Regions from separate parts of the Homo sapiens genome. Here all the other regions are linked to region 2. Evidence: promoter capture Hi-C in 16 types of primary human blood cells and fetal thymus (Javierre and others, 2016). All regions are on one chromosome and are shown on one strand. The core of a region is centred on a gene start or on the middle of the fragment in contact, and the rest is flanking DNA. Distances in the headings are between cores, read along the strand shown.

What was found. Contacts are between HindIII fragments. The CHiCAGO score rates a contact against its expected background, and 5 or more counts as called.
Region 1: a contact is called between a fragment that was not itself captured here and the fragment with the promoter of KIAA1614 in region 2, in 17 of 17 cell types (megakaryocytes, monocytes, endothelial precursors and 14 more). The highest score is 7.7, in megakaryocytes.
Region 3: a contact is called between a fragment that was not itself captured here and the fragment with the promoter of KIAA1614 in region 2, in 1 of 17 cell types (fetal thymus). The highest score is 6.5, in fetal thymus.
Region 4: a contact is called between a fragment that was not itself captured here and the fragment with the promoter of KIAA1614 in region 2, in 1 of 17 cell types (monocytes). The highest score is 5.3, in monocytes.
Region 5: a fragment that was not itself captured here is called in contact with the fragment with the promoter of KIAA1614 in region 2 in 1 of 17 cell types (naive B cells); the score reaches 5.5 in naive B cells.
Region 6: a fragment that was not itself captured here is called in contact with the fragment with the promoter of KIAA1614 in region 2 in 10 of 17 cell types (endothelial precursors, megakaryocytes, erythroblasts and 7 more); the score reaches 9.4 in endothelial precursors.
Region 7: a fragment that was not itself captured here is called in contact with the fragment with the promoter of KIAA1614 in region 2 in 2 of 17 cell types (neutrophils and endothelial precursors); the score reaches 5.5 in neutrophils.

The regions. Positions count from the first base shown.
Region 1 is chr1:180,538,916-180,541,615 of GRCh38, reverse strand. No RefSeq gene overlaps it. Among named protein-coding and RNA genes, the nearest start is that of OVAAL, 19 kb to the left of the region's middle. The HindIII fragment of the contact is 1,066 bases long and covers 838-1,903 here.
Region 2 is chr1:180,911,552-180,914,251 of GRCh38, reverse strand. KIAA1614 reads right to left here and starts at 1,355. Exons shown (of 9, transcript NM_020950.2): 1 at 959-1,355. The coding sequence starts at 1,008. LINC02816 (long intergenic non-protein coding RNA 2816) reads right to left here. Exons shown (of 4, transcript NR_185877.1): 4 at 196-2,700. RefSeq lists a silencer at 1,260-1,559. The HindIII fragment of the contact is 8,183 bases long and covers 251-2,700 here.
Region 3 is chr1:180,491,251-180,493,950 of GRCh38, reverse strand. ACBD6 (acyl-CoA binding domain containing 6) reads left to right here. Exons shown (of 8, transcript NM_032360.4): 3 at 1,586-1,682. Among named protein-coding and RNA genes, the nearest start is that of ACBD6, 10 kb to the left of the region's middle. The HindIII fragment of the contact is 530 bases long and covers 1,063-1,592 here.
Region 4 is chr1:181,193,628-181,196,327 of GRCh38, reverse strand. No RefSeq gene overlaps it. Among named protein-coding and RNA genes, the nearest start is that of LINC01732, 20 kb to the right of the region's middle. The HindIII fragment of the contact is 2,944 bases long and covers 1-2,700 here.
Region 5 is chr1:180,568,080-180,570,779 of GRCh38, reverse strand. No RefSeq gene overlaps it. Among named protein-coding and RNA genes, the nearest start is that of OVAAL, 10 kb to the right of the region's middle. The HindIII fragment of the contact is 4,766 bases long and covers 1-2,700 here.
Region 6 is chr1:180,507,623-180,510,322 of GRCh38, reverse strand. No RefSeq gene overlaps it. Among named protein-coding and RNA genes, the nearest start is that of ACBD6, 6.4 kb to the right of the region's middle. The HindIII fragment of the contact is 2,352 bases long and covers 176-2,527 here.
Region 7 is chr1:180,599,463-180,602,162 of GRCh38, reverse strand. No RefSeq gene overlaps it. Among named protein-coding and RNA genes, the nearest start is that of XPR1, 31 kb to the left of the region's middle. The HindIII fragment of the contact is 2,105 bases long and covers 391-2,495 here.

The DNA.
Region 1 (2,700 bases), core at 121-2,620, 370 kb after region 2:
CTGATTTGTTTCATTTTGAGGTATATTTTCATTTTTAAAAAAGCAATCTGAATAGCATATAGAGGCAGTATTTGATTAGAATGCTTGGGGGCGGGAGGGTTGCTGTTATTGTTGTTTGTTTTTCGATGAAATGAGACCTGGTAGGCTGGGTGTGGCACGGGTGAAGAGGGGCATTGAGATACTGGCGTCTGAAGAGACAAGTGGCACTGCATCTGTCTTCAGACCACAGACAAAAATAACAACTATAGCTAGCACGTAGTCAGTGCTGAATATGCGCCAGGCATTGTTCTAAGTGCTTCGTGTGTAATTATCTCATTTTAAAAAGATAAATTCATTGGGAGATTTTCAGGGGCTGGTGAAAGTGCGTTCTTTTTTGGTTGAGGGGAGGTTATCTAAATGGGTCAGAGTTTGTGAGTGTGTCAGGCCAGGGAGCATTAGCTGATGCAAAATACTCTACAAGGTGGCTGAACTGTCTCCTCAACTTCCAAATAGAAGTCACGTCGAGGAAATGTTTTTGCTGTCACCAGGTCTCAGGAGGTGAGTGTAGTCCTGGTGACCTTTGAATCCTTTGCCCTGGACGGATCTTATGTCTTCTCTTTCTCACCTCCACTCCCATCCTGTGTCTTAAGTTGTATGTGCAGAGTCCCAAAATGTCCCATCTCTGGCAGCAGCCTCTGTGATTCATCACCGGTGGTGGCGGCTGAAGGCTGCCTGGAATTGCTTAGCCTGGCAAGGTTTTCTTAATGTTCCTGTGAATCAGTGGGGTTATTATTCATCGACTATAATAATTTTGGTTTCTTACCCATGAAATGGGATCACAGGGGATATTGCAAAGCTTGGAGGGATATGTTTTGTTAAATATTGCATTCTTAAGATACTCTGAGGTCAGACCTCAAAAAAATAAGGAGTAGACAGTGAAGCCAAAACTGCAGCTGAAGGACTCTAGGTAGAGGCACCACGGGAGATGGGCCTAAGCACAGGGAAACCTCTGAGCTCCAGGTGAGTCAGAGTGAGGGGCTCACAGGGGAACTTAACTACTGGGACACTGTCAAGATAAAGTCAGGGGCAGGCCAAGATTGGTGCTGGGAAAGCCTGGGCTGGACCCTAGAATCTAGTCCATGAAACCGAAGTAGAGTTGATACAGTCCAAGGTTCGGTACCTGCTTAAATCAGAATCCCAGGTATATATATATAACCAAAGGGTATATCTGTGAACAAGCTGGCAAAATATGTCAGGAAGATAAGGCATAAAATTGGGATGGCACCAGTCAGCATAGACCCATTAAAATTCTTTTCCATCTGTCCCCTGCTGAAGACCAGAGGACCTGACACTGTTAGCAGGCCTACTTCTTTTCTTTCCTTCTTTCCTTCTTTCCTCCTTCCTTTCTTTCTTTCTTTCTTTCTTTCTTTCTTTCTTTCTTTCTTTCTTTCTTTCTTTCTTTCGTTCGTTCGTTCTGTTGTTTCTTTCGACAGAGTCTCACTCTGTTACCCAGGCTGGAGTGCAGTGGTGCGATCTTGGCTCACTGCAACCTCCGCCTCCCAGGTTCAAGCGATTCTCCTGCCTCAGCCTCCCGAGTAGCTGGGATTACAGGCGCATGCCACCAGGCCTGACTAATTTTTGTATTTTTAGTAGAGATAGGGTCTCACCATGTTGGCCAGGCTGTATATGTACTTTAAAGGCGCTGCTCTCTGAGCCCAGTGTCTTCCCCATAGGCCTGCCCTGCAGGCCCTTTCCCAACCTACCTCCTCTTGCTGTCAGTGTCCACAGAGCTGAACATTGCTGCTTGGCCAGGTGGATGAGTATGAGGGAAGAACTGCTTATCCTGGCCAGTCCCTGGGCATTTTTCTTAACTGAGAAATAAAACAAGGAGCCATTGTTCAGGCAAAATATTTGGGTGTAAGCTTCCAGCTCTTGTTGTAGCCCTAGTTACTTTATCCATTAAGATCTTTAGAAAAAAAAATACATTTTTAAGATCCATAAATGCCAACATCTTCTTTTCTGCCTTAGGGACACAAATCTATATCGAGATCCACAACCAAAATAAGTAGGAATTTAAATCGAATGGGCTTGCACACCTAATGACCCCCTTCAGTGGTAGAAATATTTAATGATAGCTTAGTTTGTGGAAAACCCCAGCGACCAGGTTCCAAACAGTCTCAGCTGGGAAACCCAAGTCTTTTTCATTTGGAAATTCTCGATGATAGGTTTTCAAAGCAGCTGATAAAACAGTTAATTATAGTGAGGTGTTTGGCTTCTCTGTAACATACACTTTCAACTGGTCTATGATTGGAGCTTCTTGTCATGTACTCTGAGCAGGGCCAACTAATGCTACCGTACTTTTTTTTTCCTTTGGGGGAGAGGCTTCTTAAATTACTACATAAGTAGAACTTCAGATAAAAATGCGACGTCTAGCATGAGAGCATTCAATAGAGCCCCTCCAATCTCCGCTATCGCTTCTTTTTCTCTGGTGCATTTCACTTTAGTTATGCTGGGGTTGTACAAGCCTGGCACAAGCTCAGCACAAACCCACTAGATCTTTCCTCTTGATCAGTAGCTCTCAAATTTTAGGGAACACCAGAACCCTCCAGTGAAAGATTGCTGGGCCTTCCAGAGTTTCAGATGGGACCTGAAAATGTGTATTTCCAACAGGTTCCCAGATCATGTTAATGCACTTTGTCTTGACAGGGAATCACATTTTGA
Region 2 (2,700 bases), core at 106-2,605:
GCATGCATATCTACATGCCACAGCGTTTTAATATTGATTCTACCTTCTGAGAAAAATACAACTTTAATATCACACATCTAGATGTCCCCCCCCCCTTGAAGTAAACTTTGTGCATAAAAATCCTTATGTGTATACACTACAAATTAGGAGTTATCCACTTCGTAACACGGACCAAGTATTCACCATAAAATTCTCTTAAATGGCAAGTCTCTCTGTAGTCGTTTATTACAATTCAATTTATACACAAGCTTTCAGGAATGCACATATTTTATAAAGCAAAATACACATATAATGCGAAATGTCACACCAGTTTTAAGCCAGTAAAGTTTAAGGATTATCTTTAGGAGGACAGAAATAATTTGTTCTATGAGTTAATCTAGAATGCAGCAAGTTTCTCTTTGCATCTCCTTCTTCTCCTCTAAAGTCCAATCCAGAAAACAGGGGATTAGAATGTAATATGAGCAATTTCTGTTAAGTTAAAATAACTTTTTGTTTTTGGGGAGGCTGAAGCCAGAGGAGGCCGGGCTTGAGCCCGGGAGGTCGAGGTTGCAGTGAGCCATGATCGCACCACTGCACTCCAGCCTGGGCGACAGAGCGAGACCCTGGCTCCAAAAAATTAAAGTAAGAATTGTTGATGGGTAAACTCTGGAACAGCACGCCAGAGACCTTAAAGAATGAGACCCTCCCACTGGAGTCCCCTGGGCACGGGCTTTCGGGAAGATCGGTCAGCTCGGAGCTGCCTGGTTCTATGGCCCAAGCACTGTGATGTATTTCCCCTAACTCAGAGGGGCCAAACGAAGATGGACGTGAAGGGCGGGCCTCCCCACGACCCTTCCAGCTCCGAGCCCGTGGGAGGCCCGCTTCCCAGTGGCCGGGGCGACCTGGGCTCCCCGCTCCTCCGCCCCGCCGGTCCGCCACCCCCGCCCGGCCGGCCCGGCGCTGCCTCCTCTATACTCACTGGGGGCTGCCGCCCGCGGGTTTGGCCGCCGCCGCCTCTGTCCCCTCCATCCCTCGGAGAGGCCAGGCCCTCTCCAGCCCCTTCTCCCTCCCAGGCCAGCTGCTGGGTTCGGGGAGGGACTTCCAGCCCCGAATCCGGGGCCGGAGGGAGTGCGGCCCGCAGGCCTCGCCCCTCGGGGCGCGGCCGACTGGGGGTCCGGGACGGCGCCGAGGCCGGGCCAGCTCCCGGCTCTGCTGGCAGCCCCCGGGCCCCGGGTGGGTCTGGCCGGCGCAGCGCCCCACGGGCCGCACTCCCTCCCGGCGAGAGGACGGGAAGCGGGGTCGGGCAGGGAGGGCGCTGGCAGGGAAGGAAGTGGCATCAGCTGTCCGTTCACGGCTTTGCCGTGGAGGGGAAGAGCGGCCAAGCCCGCGCCTTCCCGGCCCGCGCTGGGCAGAGGGAGCCGAGCGCGGAGAGGTGGGGCCGCGGGAGGGGCTGGAGGAGCCGGGCCTCGGCCTCCCACCCCGCCCGGAGCCCCGCGGGGCCGCCTCTCCTGAGCCGCGGCCCAGGGAGCGAGTGTCCCCGGCCGTCAGAGGCGCGGGATGGAAGTCCAGGGCGGCCCCGAGCTTGGGGACGACGGGGCGGCCGCCAGCCTCGCAGGGCGGTGGCCCCTTCCCCGCGGGAAAGCGGGCGCAAGAGCGGAGGCGCGCGGGGCGCACGGAGGCCGGGGAGCGCGGGCAGGAGCTGGGGGCGCACCACGTTCTCGGCGGGCTCCGCGCGCCGCTGGTAACCCTACACCCAGGGCTCGCCTTTCGGGGTGGAAGCTGAGGAATGCCTTTTGTGTGGACAAGTTTTCCAGAGGAGCCGGCCGCCCTCTCTGTGGGGCCGTCCATCGCTCCGTAGAGCCGTTTCCTCCGAGGTCAAGGTCGTTGGTTCCCGCTCTCCAGAGGCGTGAGGGAAACCCGGAGGGAACGCGCTCCGCGCATCCCGTCTGCCGCGGTGCCGGAATTGCCCGCCGCCGCCTTGGGTGGGGACCGGTTCTCAGGGTCCTGGGGGCTCTCGAGCAGATCACTTTCCCCAGCGCGGGACGGGGGTCGCAACCAGGGGCATTCCCTGCAGCCGCGGCCCAAACCGACGGAGCTTGCTTTCTCCTTCCACCCAGAGGGGGTGACCGAGCCTCACCTATTTCCAAGCCTATTTTTTCACAAAGACGGGAAGCAATAAAAGTGGCCTCAGGAGATTCCGGAAATCTCTACAAAGAGAAAGTGCCCGTTCATCTTTCCTTCAGCCGACTGGCTTCACTGTGAAGCATGGGGTAGTTGTGCACCTCCAGATGACAGGACAGACACAGCAACAGTAAGGGCCGCGCAATATGTACCGGGGCAGGGGAGGAGGGGAAGGAAGTTTTCTAGAGGGGCTGCCTCTTGAGTCAGGAGGGGGTTACTCTGCACAAGGTGGGGGAAGGGGCGTCTGGCAGGGCAACAGGAGAGCGGAGCCTGGGGAGCTGTGAGTGGACTGGCGTCTTGGCAATCTAGGAGCTTGAGAGATTATCCAGTGCAAACCCTCTGTGTCACAGTACAGGCCCAAGGTTACGTCAGAGGCTTCGAACCAGAGCGACTCCATCTTGTGTGAGGGCGAGGAAAATGAGGCTGGGACTTGCTGGGCCACATTCCCAGTGAGTTAGCTATACCCAGCTTCTAGATATTTACGGTTAAGAGAACAAATTAATAACGTTTGCTAAACAGACCCAGACTTAGGAGTGTCCT
Region 3 (2,700 bases), core at 78-2,577, 420 kb after region 2:
GAAATAATTTAACCCAATTCTAATCATGATTAATCATTTTTGGCAAGAACACTGTAGGTAAGGAAACAATTAGACAAATTCAAATTGAGGGATATGTTATAAAACAGTTGGACTCTTAAAAAATACCAACAATGTGGAAGACAAAAAAGCTGAAGATACATGAAACTCAATGCTGTGTGTGGATCTTGATTGGTTCCTGGTGTGGGAGAAGAAAGCCATAAAGGACATTATTGGGACAATCAGGAAAATCTGAATGTATAGCCTCTATATTGTATAATAGTAATTGATGATAAATTTCCTGAGTTTGTGTAAGCTGATCTATTTAGGGATGAAGTGTTATGATGCGTATAAGTAATTCTTAAGGAATTCAGTGAAAATAAATTTAGAAAACCTCAGAAAGATATTATATTCATCATAGAAGCAGGAAGGTAGTGAAAAAATGTGGGATTGAGTTCTGTTTGACAGCAAATCAGGGAAATCGAGAAACACTGGTTGGAATTTAGAAAGAATTGGCAGGGAAAAACCAAGAAGAAGGCCTGTCCTGGCAGCCTGTTGTGGGGGCAGGGGGGTAGATGACCCAAAAGGAAGCTCAGGACTAAAATGTTGCTTTTGCCATTTATATTGTAGGAAGTCCCTAACTTACTCATTAGTATTCTTTAGTTGCTGTTGTTGTTTTTTTTTTTTTTTTTTTTTTTTTTTTTTTGAGACAGAATTTTGCTCTGTTGCCCAGGCTGGAGTGTGGTGGTGCCATCTCAGCTTACTGCAACCTCTGCCTCCCAGGTTCAAGCAATTCTCCTGCCTCGGCCTCCAGAGTAGCTGGACTACAGGCGCACACCACCACGCCTGGCTAATTTTTGTATCTTTAGTAGAGATGGGGTTTCACCATGTTGGCCAGGCTGGTCTCAAACTCCTGACCTCAGGTGGTCCACCTGCCTCAGCCTCCCAAAGTGCTGGGATTACAGGCGTGAGCCACCAAGCCTGGCCAGTATTCTTATTTCTGCCCTCACCATCCCTTACTTTTGAAGTCCCAGACTAAGTCCCCAGGATCAGTTACTAGAAGCTTATAGATGAGATAACAGCAGAAAGGGAAGGTGGATTTCTTGTATCTTAGTAAGAAGTTTGATGCATTTTCCTTGGGAATATTGTTTTTTATGTGATGATTAGTTTCTGTACGACCAAAATGCCATAAGCACAGTTAATTTATGAGAATAATCTCTATTAGTCTGTAGATCATATATCCTCAATAGGGGTGAAATTTTGTTTGAGGAAATTATAAAATCTTAGATTACAGTGGTTTGTGGTCTTTCAAAATTTAATAGCTATGCATTGTATCTGTGTTTTTAAAATTTCACGGGGAGGACGATTAGGAAAAAAAATGTCTGAAAAGACTGCTTAGGTAGGGCAATAAGGTCTGTATAGCTCTAGACCAATGTAAATGCAAAAAGACAGAGCTTCTCTATCCATAGCTTATTATCTCTATATTCAGAGACCCTTGAAATGTGCATACAGTTTTTTTAATAATAAGAAAAATGCTGTTTGTGTTATTTGCATAATGACAGGCCATTTTGGATATTCCATATTGTAGGGAAGCTTGGAAAGCACTTGGTGATTCAAGCCCCAGCCAAGCAATGCAGGAATATATCGCAGTAGTTAAAAAACTAGATCCAGGTTGGAATCCTCAGGTAAGACTTAATGATTATAAATAATACTTTCCAAAAACTTATGATCCTTCTCTGAAATAAATGTCTAAAACTAAACTTAGTTTTAAGTAACATGCTTAAAGTTTTACTTTCTTGAAATATTTTAAAGTTATTGTAATATTTATCTAATAAAATAATTGCTGGCCAGGTGTGGTGGCTCATACCTGTAATCCCAGCACTCTGGGAGGCCAAGCCAGGTGGTTCACCTGAGGTAAGAGTTCAAGACCGGCCTGGCCAGCATGGTGAAATCTCATCTCTACTAAAAATACAAAAATTAGCTGGACGTGGTGGTACACACCTGTAATCCCAGCTACTCAGGAAGCTGAGGCAGGGGAATCAATTGAACCTGGGAGGCTGAGGCTGCAGTGAGCCAAAATCAGGCCACTGCACTCCAGCCTGGGTGACAGTGTGAGACTCCATCTCAGAAAAATGAAAAAAATTAATAATAATTACTTAAATAGTAATATAACCAGCTACTGATGCTGAGAACTTCTCTGAGTTGCAGAGTTTTTGAAAGCAGAAAAATTTGAATTACATAAGAATTGGAAAGAGTTTAACTTGAGATTATCATGCTGGAAAAAAGGTTACTCTTGGATTTCGTTTTTATGATCACTTTCTATGCAAGGGCAAAATGCTTATTAGGGATAAAAGATGAATAAGACATGATTTCTGCCATTATGTAGTTTAAAGTGTAATAGAGAAGATAAAACATATCAAAATATATATCTTTAATAGTATAAAACAATAATAATGTAAATGCTAGGGAATCCAGCAGGAAAAGGGATTGCTTTGGACTTTGGAAGCATTGGATATTGTTCACTTAAATATACCCTGTTTTTCTCATATACTTATTGGAGAACATCTAGAAAGAATTTAATAAAGGTGAGGTTACTATTTAAGAATATTGTTAAATGATTAACAGGTATTTCAGTGAGATAGAGGTTGCATTGTACCATGTAAAAAATGCAAATTGAATTTTTTTCAATAAAAATATTAAGGC
Region 4 (2,700 bases), core at 88-2,587, 280 kb before region 2:
CCAGTGGGGCATTCCCAGTGTTTTTTTCCCTTCTTCCTCGACTTTTTATTTTTTGGTTACTCTTTTTTTTTTTTTTTTTTTTAAGAGACAGGGTCTTTGTCACCCAGGCTGGAGAGCAGTGGTACGATCATAGCTCACTGCAGCCTTGAACTTCTGGGCTCAAGTGATCCTCCCACCTCAGCTTCCCAAGTAGCTAGGACCACAGGCTTGCACCACCATTCCCAGCTAATTTTTGGTAAAGATGGGGTCTCACTATATTGTGCAGGCTGGGGTCTCAAACTCAAGCAATCTTCCTGCCTTGGCCTCCCAAAGTGCTGGGATTATAGGCATGAGCCACCATGCCCAGCCACAATCATACTTTCATGACAAGGTGTATTAGTCTATTTTCACGCTGCTGATAAAGACATACCCAAGGCTGGGCAATTTACAAAAGGAAGAGGTTTTTTGGACTTACAGTTCCACATGGCTGGGGAAGCCTCACAATCATGGTGGAAGGCAAGGATGAGCAAGTCACATCTTATGTGAATAGCAGCAGGCAAAAAGAGGGCTTGTGCAGAGAAACTCCTGTTTTTAAAACCATCAGATCTCACGAGACCCATTCACTATCACAAGAACAGCAAAGGAAAGACCCACCCCTATGATTCGATCATCTCCCACTGGGTCCCTCCCACAACATATGGGAATTATGGGAGGTACAAGATAAGATTTGGGTGGGAACACAGAGCCAAATCATATCATTTGGCCCCAGACCCTCCCAAATCTCATATCTTCACATTTCAAAATCATTCATGCCTTCACAACAGTCCCCCAAAGTCTCATTTCAGCATTAACTCAAAAGTCCGCAGTCCAAAGTCTCATCTTAGACAAGGCAAGTCCCTTCCACCTATAAGCCTGTACAATCAAAAGCAAGTTAGTTACTTCCTAGATACAGTGGGGTTACAGGCACTGGGTAAATACAGCCATTCCAAATGGGAGAAACTGGCCAAAACAAAGGGGCTACAGGCCCCATGCAAGTCCGAAATCCAGCAGGGCAGTCAAATTTTAAAGCTCCAAAATGATCTCCTTTGACTCCATGTCATGCTGGTGTAAGAGGTGGGTTTCTATGGTCTTGGACAGCTCTGCCCCTATGGCTTTGCAGGGTACAGCCTCCCTCCTGGCTGCCTTCATGGGCAGGTGGTGAGTGTCTGTGGCTTTTCCAGGTGCATGGTAGAAGCTGTCAGTGGATCTACCATTCTGGGGTCTGGAAGATGGTGGCCCTCTTCTCACAGCTCCACTAGGCAGTGCTCCAGTAGGGACTGTGTCAGGGCTCCCAACCCACATTTCCCTTCTGGACTGCTCTAGCAGAAGTTCTCCATAAGGGCGCTGCTCCTGCAGCAAACTTCTGCCTGGACATCTAGGTGTTTCCATACATCCTCTGAAATCTAGGCAGAAGTTCCCAAACCCCAGTTCTTGACTTGTGTGCTCTTGTGGGCTCAATGCCGCATGGAAGCCACCAAGGCTTGGGGCTTGCACCCTCTGAAGCCATGGCCCAAGCTCTATGTAGGCCCCTTTCAGCCATGGCTGGAGCAGCTGGGATGTGAGGCACCAAGTCCCTAGGCTGCACACAGCATGGGGACCCTGGACCCAGCCCACGAAACCACTTTTTTCTCCTAGGCCTCGAGGCCTGTGACGGGAGAGGCTGCTGTGAAGACCTCTGACATGTCCTGGAGACATTTTCCCCATTGTCTTGGGGATTAACATTCAGCTCCTTTTTACTTACACAAATTTCTACAGCCAGCTTGAATATCTCCTCAGAAAATGGGATTTTCTTTTCTATCACATTGTTGGGCTGCAAATTTTCCTAACTTTTATGCTCTGCTTCCCTTATAAAACTTTATAAAACTGAATGCCTTTAACAGCACCCAAGTCACCTGTTGAATGCTTTGCTGCTTAGAAATTTCTTCTGCCAGATACCCTAAATCATCTCTCTCAAGTTCAAAGTTCCACAAACCTCTAGGGCAGGGGCAAAATGCCACCAGTCTTTTTGCTAAAACATAACAAGAGTCACCTTAGCTCCAGTTCCCAACAAGTTCCTCATCTCATCTGAGACCACCTCAGCCTGGACCTTATTGTTCATATCACTATCAACATTTTTGTCCAAGCCATTCAACAAGTCTCTGGGGAGTTCCAAACTTTCTCACATTTTACTGTCTTCTACTGAGCCCTCCAAACTGTTCCAACCTCTGCTGTTGCCCAATTCCAAAGTCATTTCCACATTTTTGGATATCTTTTCAGCAGCACCCCACTCTACTGGTACCAACTTACTCTATTAGTCTGTTTTCACACTGCTGATAAAGACATACCCAAGACTGAGCAATTTACAAAGGAAAGAGGTTCAATGGAGAACTCACAGTTCCACGTGAGTGGGGAAGCCTCACAATCATGGTGGAAACAAAGGAGGAACAAGTCACATCTTACGTGAATGGCAGCAGGCAAAAAGAGAGCTTGTGCAGAGAAACTCCTGTGTTTAAAACCATCAGATCTCATGAGACCCATTCACTATCACAAGAACAGCATGGGAAAGACCTATCCTGTGATTCGATCATCTCCCACCCAGTACCTCCCACAACACATGGGAATTATGGGAGCTACAAGATGAGATTTGGGTGGGGACACAGAGCCAAACCATATCACAAGGACATTAAGTTCTTCAAGAAGTTT
Region 5 (2,700 bases), core at 178-2,677, 340 kb after region 2:
ACCACATTTGTCTTTCAATCTTTCTGCGTATTTTTATAAATTATTGTGCTGAACAATTTGGGAGGCAGGTGCAGACATAATGTCTCATTATCTCTTAATACTTTAGTGTGCATTTCCTAAAAGCAGGACATTCTCCTACATAACTAAGTAGAAACATCAATACAATGTCACCATTTATTCACAAACTTCCAATTTTACCATCTGCCCTGATAATATCCTTTATGGGTCCAGAATGCAGTTGAGGATTGGTTGTTGGAAGTAATTAATTTGGAACAGTTTCTCAGCCTTTCCCTGTCCTGCATGCCTCTGACATTTTCAAAGGGTACAGCCAGTTATCTGTAGAATACTCCTCAGTTCAGGTTTGTCTGATACTGCCTCGTGATTAGCTTTATGTCATGCATTTTTGGCAGGAACACCACAGAGTAATGCTTTGTTCTCAGTCTATCATATCAAGGGTACATGATGTCAATTTGTCCCATTACTGGTGATGTTAAATTAAAAATGGGTAATAAGAGTTAACAAGTATTTTGTTGGAAGACACTGTGAGATAATGTAAAGATGCTGTTTCTCATCAAACTGTCATCCACTAGTTTTTGCATCCATTGATGATTCTTGTCCAAATTAATTTCCATTCTGTTGGTTGCCAAATGGTGATATTCTAATTCCATTTCTCTTTCTTTCTTTTCTCTCTCTCTCCTTTCTTTTTTTGAGACAGGATCTCGGTCTGTTGCTCAGGCTGGAGTGCAGTGGCACAATCACCGCTCACTGCAACCTGAACATCCTGGGCTCAAGCAATCCTCCCGCCTCAGCCTCCTGAATAGCTAGGACTACAGGCACATACTACCATGCCCGGCTAATTTTTGTAATTTTTGGTAGAGATGGGGTTTCACCATGTTGGTCAGGTTGGTTTCGAACTCCTGACCTTAGGTGATCCACCAGCCTTGGCCTCCCAAAGTGCTGGGATTATAGGGATGAGCCACCGTGCCCAACTTTTATTCTTGATATTCCCTTTGATTCTTTATTGCCCTCACTTTGGCCCATGGAAGTCCCTTCAGGCTGGTCCCTGTGTCCTTTCTCATCCTGAGCATCACCTCACTTTCTGGCTCAAGAAGATGCTCCAGGCTCATCTTGGACATTCCCTGCCCCAGGCCTGTATATTAGCTTCCTTTGACTGCCATCTCAAATTACCACAGATTTGGAAACAACAGAAACTATTCCCTTACAAATTTGGAGGCCAGGAGTCTGAAACCAATATTAATGGGATGAAATTAGCTATTGGCAGAACCACACTCCCTCCAGAGGCTCTAGGGGAGAATCTGTCTATTGCCCCTTCCAGCTTGGGGTAACTGCTGGCACTCCTTGACTTGTGACTGAATCACTGCCTCCATAGTCACGCTGTCTCCTCTTCTGTCTGTAATCTCCCCCGTCTCTCTCTTATAAAGACACTTGTGATGGCATTTAGGATCCACCTGGCTAATCCAGGATAATCTCCTCATTTAAAAATCTTTAACTTAATCACATCTGCAAAAATCCTTTTTCCAAATAAGGTAACATTTACAGGTTCCAGGGGTTAAGATGTAGATATCTTCGAGTGGACCAGTTTTAAAACTACCACATCCTGGAATCAGCTATTTCCTGATGGAGTCCTATTTCCTTTTAATAAAAAATAATATCTAGAAGCCATGATGTGGATGCTAGGTATGCTTATTGCTACTTGGGTGCCTTTACTTTCAGGCACTCGGTGCAGATAGAGCTAGGAAATTAGGTATATAGATAGATAGATATGTCTATGCATGTATATGTGTATCTCTATATATGTATATATTTATATATACACACATAATACACATAAATCTTTGTTATATATTTACATTAAAAACCAGGAGTTCACACCAATACTTTCAGTTCTATTCCAACACCACAGCATTTATTCTAGCCTTCTTTCATTCTATATTTGTAACTCAAATATAGATCTCTCCAACAGTGAGCGGCCTGGCTCCCATCATTTTCAATATGTTTACTTATTTGCTCAATTCCCCTGTAACCAATCTCCTGATCATACCAGCTAAATCTACTCAGCCCTGTTACTGCCAACCACACCAGCTTTAGGGGATGAATCCCATCAGCCCTAGGAAAGGGGAAGGGCGAAGAAACCTTTTAATAAAAAAAGAGGCACAATATGATTTTATTAGAGAAGTAGAAATGTCAGTGTTGAAGATAAACCTTTCTTCCATTAAGCTCAAGGCACCTTCATTTGTGATCGCACATTTGTTATGCTCAGAGACGTGTCCTTAAGTCCCAGAAATGAGAGAATGACTTTTATAATCCAACATCCTCAAGAGCTTCCCTCTTAAAGGCTTCAAGATGACAGTGAAAGGTTCAGAAATTCCCCAGCACAGCATACATAAACACATTTCATGCTGCATTTTCTCATCCTTAAAAAAATGTGCATTGCCAGACATGCTGAATCTCAAATTGCTTATAGATATACAATTTTTTCAGTTGGATGAACACCTTTATGCTTAAAAACCCTAGAAGACCCTGGGGGGAGCAATTTCAACATCCATGCAGAGACAATCACAGATGATTTTGCCCCTCACTAACTATCTCTCTGATGTTGTCAATGGGAGGAAGGATGGAGTTCAGCAGTGCCATTTATATTATGCTAGACAAACACTGGATTTATATTTCTATTGTGTG
Region 6 (2,700 bases), core at 102-2,601, 400 kb after region 2:
ACTAAAGAAAATGTGGTATATAGACACCACGGAATACCACTCAGCCATGAAAAGGAATAAAACAATGTCTTTGGCAGCAACTTGTATGGAGCTGGAAGCCATTATTCTAAATGAAGTAACTCAGGAGTGGGAAACCAAAACCTGTATGTTCTCGCTTGTAAGCGGGAGCTAAGCTTTGAGTACATGAAGACATACAGAGTGGTATAATGGAGTTTAGAGACTCAGCAGGGGGAGGGTGGGAATGGGGTTAGAGATAAATAACCACATATTAAGTACAATGTACACTACTTGGGTGACAGGTGCACTAAAGTCTCAGAAGTCACCACTACATTATTCATCCATATAACAAAAAAAATTTATACCTCAAAAGGTATTGATACAAAAATTTTTTAAATGTCAATATTTCACAAAAACCTAAATTGTACTAAACCCAGTGCAGTTACTTTTGTAACGAGGAAAATATTTTGTCTGGTTGCCCTGACTTCAGTTATGCTACTGAAACAGTTATTGTGTCTGCAATTGGTGGGTTCTTGAACTCACTGACTTCAAGAATGAAAACGTGGACCCTCACGGTGAGTGTTACAGTTCTTAAAGATGGTGTGTCGGGAGTTTGTTCCTTCTGATGTTCGGACGTGTTTGGAGTTTCTTCCTTCTGGTGGGTTCGTGATCTCCCTGGCTTCAGGAGTGAAGCTGCAGACCTTGGCGGTGAGTGTTACAGCTCTCAAGGCGGTGCGTCTGGAGTTGTTCATTCCTCCCAGTGGGTTCGTGGTCTTGCTGGCCTCAAGAGTGAAGCTGCAGACCTTCGCCATGAGTGTCACAGCTCACAAAGACAGTGCGGACCCAAACAGTTAGCACCAGCAAGAGTTACTGCAGAGAGCAAAACAACTAAGCTGGAGACCTGAGCGACTTGCCGCAGCTGGCTCTTGGCAGCCTGCTTTTATTCTCTTATCTGGCCCCACCCACATCCTGCTGAGATTGGTCCATTTTACAGAGAGCTGATTGGTCCGTTTTGACAGGGTGCAGATTGGTGCATTTACAATCCCTGAGCTAGACACAAAAGTTCTCCAAGTCCCCCACTAGATTAGCCAGACACAGAGCACTGATTGATGCATTTACAAAGCCTGAGCTAGATACAGACTGCTGATTGGTGCATTCACAAACCTTGAGCTAGACACAGGGTGCTGATTGGTGCATTTACAATCCTCCAGCTAGACATAAAAGTTCTCCAAGTCCCACCTCCCCCCACCAACTCAGGAGGTCAGCCAGCTTCGCCTGGTGGATCCCGTGCCAGGGCAGCGGGCGGAGCTGTTCAACCAGTCCAGCGCTGCGTGCCTGCGGGCTCCTCAGCCCTTGGGCGGTAGATGGGACCGGGTGCTGCGGAGCAGGGGGCGGCACTCGTTGGGGAGGCTAGGGCTGCGCAGGAGCCCATGGCGGGGTGGGGGAAGGCTCGGGCATGGTGGGCTGCAGGTCCTGAGCCCTGTCCTGCAGGGAAGCAGCTGCGGCCCTGTGAGGATCCGAGTGCAGTGCCGGTGGGCCGGTACTGCTGGGGGACCCGGCCCACCCTCTGCAGCTGCTGGCCCAGGTGCTAAGCCGCTCACTGCCCGGGGCCAGTGTTTCCGGTCTGCCGCTCCAAGTGCAGGGCCCACAGATCCCATGCCCTCCTGGAACTCACGCTGGCCTGCGACCGCCACGCGCAGCCCCGGTTCCAGCCTGCTCCTCTCCCTCCACACCTCCCTGCAAGCAGAGGGAGCCGGCTCTAGCCTTGGCCAGCCCAGAGAGGGGCTCCCACAGTGCAGCGGCAGGCTGAAGGGCTCCTCAAGCACTGCCGAGGCCGAGGAGGTGCTGACAGCCAGCCCTCTGTGAGGGCTGCCAGTAGGTCGTCACCTCTCATTATGACTTTTGTTAATTCAGATGTTTAGATCAGTTCAGATGTTATGTTGGGAAGCATTTTACAACAATCACATATTTTTCTCTTTGCATTTCTTCTTGAAATACTTAGAACTGTAGTTTATAATGAATATAAACACTGGAAAATGCCACAACATTGTTGGGTAGTATTCTAATAACATAACATTCAGACCTTCTAGCAAGGTTAATAGAACTACTCAGCATCACTTAAACAAATTGCCAGTTTGAGGACTTATTTTGCTTCTAATTTCTTAGAACATGACTCATAGAATTTTATTTATTATGCATATCATGTCATCAATATTTATTTTACTTGCAAGAATGACTCATTGTTACCAGAAGATGGGGCTGTGAACACCATATGCAACATGGCCACCATCATGAGCCAGACTGATTAGATCTTCACTACTTCTTTCCTGCCTGCTCCTTTTTCTGCTCACTTTAGACTCCATTTGTCAGTGTTTCCTGCCATTGCTTTTCACTTGTTAGCGGGTTTGTTTGAATCAGTGTATGTTGACTGCTAAACTTCAATTCCTGCAGAACTGTAATACTTTCTTTTGACTTCCTGATTTCTTGGCTGATTTTTCTTGGGATTCAAAGAAACATAAACAGTTAAGCTTTGAACAACTCAGCAATAAGGGGATCGACCCCTAAGCAGTCAACTACTGTTGACTGCAAGCCATGCCAAGAACACAAACAGTTGAGTAACACATATTTTGTATATGTATTATGTACTGTCTTCTTGAAATAAAGTAAGCTAGAGAAAAGAAAATGTCATTAAGAAAACCATAA
Region 7 (2,700 bases), core at 194-2,693, 310 kb after region 2:
GAGTGAAATTGCTTCTTTGGCTCTATCCTTCTCTATCACTGCCCTATATCTCTCCTTATGAACCGATTCTGTTCCAAACTTTGGCAAAATGGGAGGCTCAGGGAAGCCAGGAGCCAGGGTCTGGGTGCTCAGATGGAAAGGGAGTAGGGTAGAGCTCAGGCCATGAAACAAAAAGGGAACTGAAGATAGTGTTCCAGGTGAAATAGGGTCAGAACCAAAGAGACAGCCACACACTGTATCAATCTAAAATGAGCTGGGCAAAGAGGAAAAAAATGGATGGGAGTTAAAAGATTGGTAAGTAAGGATAGAAGAATAGAACCAAAAGTTTAGAAAGCTGGATGAGAGCCAGAGCAGAAAGAATTCTCAAAGTGTAGATAGCTAAGTCAAGCTTGCATTTATAGGATGCCTGTAGCCTTGCCCATGGGTGGAGAGGGAGCATTTAAGGATGCCAAGCCTTCCTGGACATTTCCTCCTCTGCTAATCTCTTTAAGAGGGTTAGCAACAATCACTGCTCCACTTCCTTAGTTCAACCTCATTTCAAAACACATTGCAGTCTCAATTCTATCTCTACCTTCCCACTGAAACCTCTTGGGAAAGGATTGCCAATTGTCTCTATATTGGTCTCTTCTCTGAGTGTTCCTCCACGAGTTCCTTCTCCTCCTTCTCTGTTGCCCAGTGTTTAAGCATTTGTATCTACAGAATTTCTTCTAGGATCTTCTAACCACCCTTACAATCATTGGGCATCTTCCTCTACTTTTGCAGATTTTAAATCAGCAGTTTTGTTAACTTCCAAATCTGTATCTCTGGTCCCTACCTCTCTACTAGCCATCAGACTCACACCTGAACTGTTTGGCTCTGCGGTCCTTCAAATGTTCTGGTGTCTAGATTGCCGTGCAGGCATGGTAGGTGGCAAACAGGAGAGTGGGAAGAGCTGTAGGATAAGGAAAGAAAAGTAATGGGTGATTAGCTAAAAGCAAGCTGCTATATCAACTTATTTCTAAAAGAACGGGGCTTTTTAAACTCCTCTCTGAAGTGCTTGCACACACCAAAATCACCTGTGTTGGATAACTAAGTTAAGAAATCCTTGAGTGTATGCTCAGCTTTACCTATTTCCTAACTATGGGACCAAGAGTGGACTTGGGTCACAGAATTGTCATTCTGGGGCACTGTCATTAAGGGAACTCACTCTGCAAGTGGGTTCTTCTCTCCAACTAGCAAATTCTTTTGATTCTATTAGTTTCAATTTCTCTGAAAGAGAATTTGATTGGCCCAGGTAATCTTTTCATGCTAGGACCTCATTAGATGGGTCGCCTTGGGTCAGGCACATACCCCCAAGTCTAATCCAAAGTTACCTTTATGCAAAGAACATCCTAGCATTAATTCCCTGGGAACGAGCTGAGAGCAGTGCACTTCATGATGGAAGGCAAAGTTTCTCATGGCTGACACCTCCAGCGCTTAGCTGTGGAACATATAGAGGAAGTTCCTACCACTGCCTGGGAAATTAGGAAAGGCCTCATCATGGCTGTGACATTTGAGAAGGCCTTAAAGGATAGTAGGTATTATGTGTGATTTGTGTGGCAATTTCAAAATGTTGCAGCATTATTCCAAACCTAGGATTTGCATTCAGTTATTGCTTGTTCACTTTTTTCCTTTTCTAAATCATGAGTCACTTTCATTCTTAGGAAACTCCACACCTGAAGGAACTGGAACTTTCTCCTTTCTTCTCTCTTTTCTGTCTTTCTCTTCTCCTCTCTCTCTCTTTTCACCCTCTCTGTCTCTGTTTTTCTTTTTCTGTCTCTCTCATTTTGTGTGGACATTAAACAAAGTCTAGAATAATATTCCCTAATTCTTTCATTTATTCACTCAATATTCAGTGCCTACTATATGCTAGAGCATTTTATAGTTTATAAAATGCATTTTATAGATCATTTTGTTTAGGCCTTATCACAAGCCTATTAAGCAGTTATTATTATAAAATACATTTAATTCAAACAACCGAGGCTTAAGGGGGTTAAGTAATTGATCCAAAATCAAATTGGAAGTATAGTGGGAGAGGGGAGATTTGAACCTAAGCGGAATCTCTAAAACCTATATACTTTTCACTATACCACACTGGGATGACTCACAAATCACAGAAAAACATGACATTAGATCTGATATGATTAATTGAACAACATCAGCAATTTGCCATTAAATGCTACCGATTAACATCTGTCATATTCTTGCTGAGCATTTTCCTAAACTGAGGGTTCAGGTTACGTAACTAAAACGAGTAATCTTCCAAAATAAGTCTGTGAGTTTGAAAAAGTTCTCCAATTAAATTAAGTTTATTTTTTAACAAGTTAATTTTTTAAATGAGAAATAGAAAATTCTTTCTCTCTGGCATTTGTTCTTTGCTTCTGCCCTTAGAAGCCTATCCTGTGTATGTAATATTTATTAATATATAACAATGCTACCTTTTACAGTATGTACAGTCCATTCCCCATTGGTAAGCTTCTTATGTTTGCATTTGGATAGCTCAGCTAGTTTGACTGTATGACTAAGAAATCAGTTGAATTTTTTGGAGTGACTTTATTTTTGCACCCCCATTCCCTTTCAGATTCGAAAGTAACAGATGCTTATTGTATAAAAGGCAAACCATACAGATGTCTTAGAAAGTAAAAAGCCCTGGCAATTCCACCCTCAGACATAACAGTTATT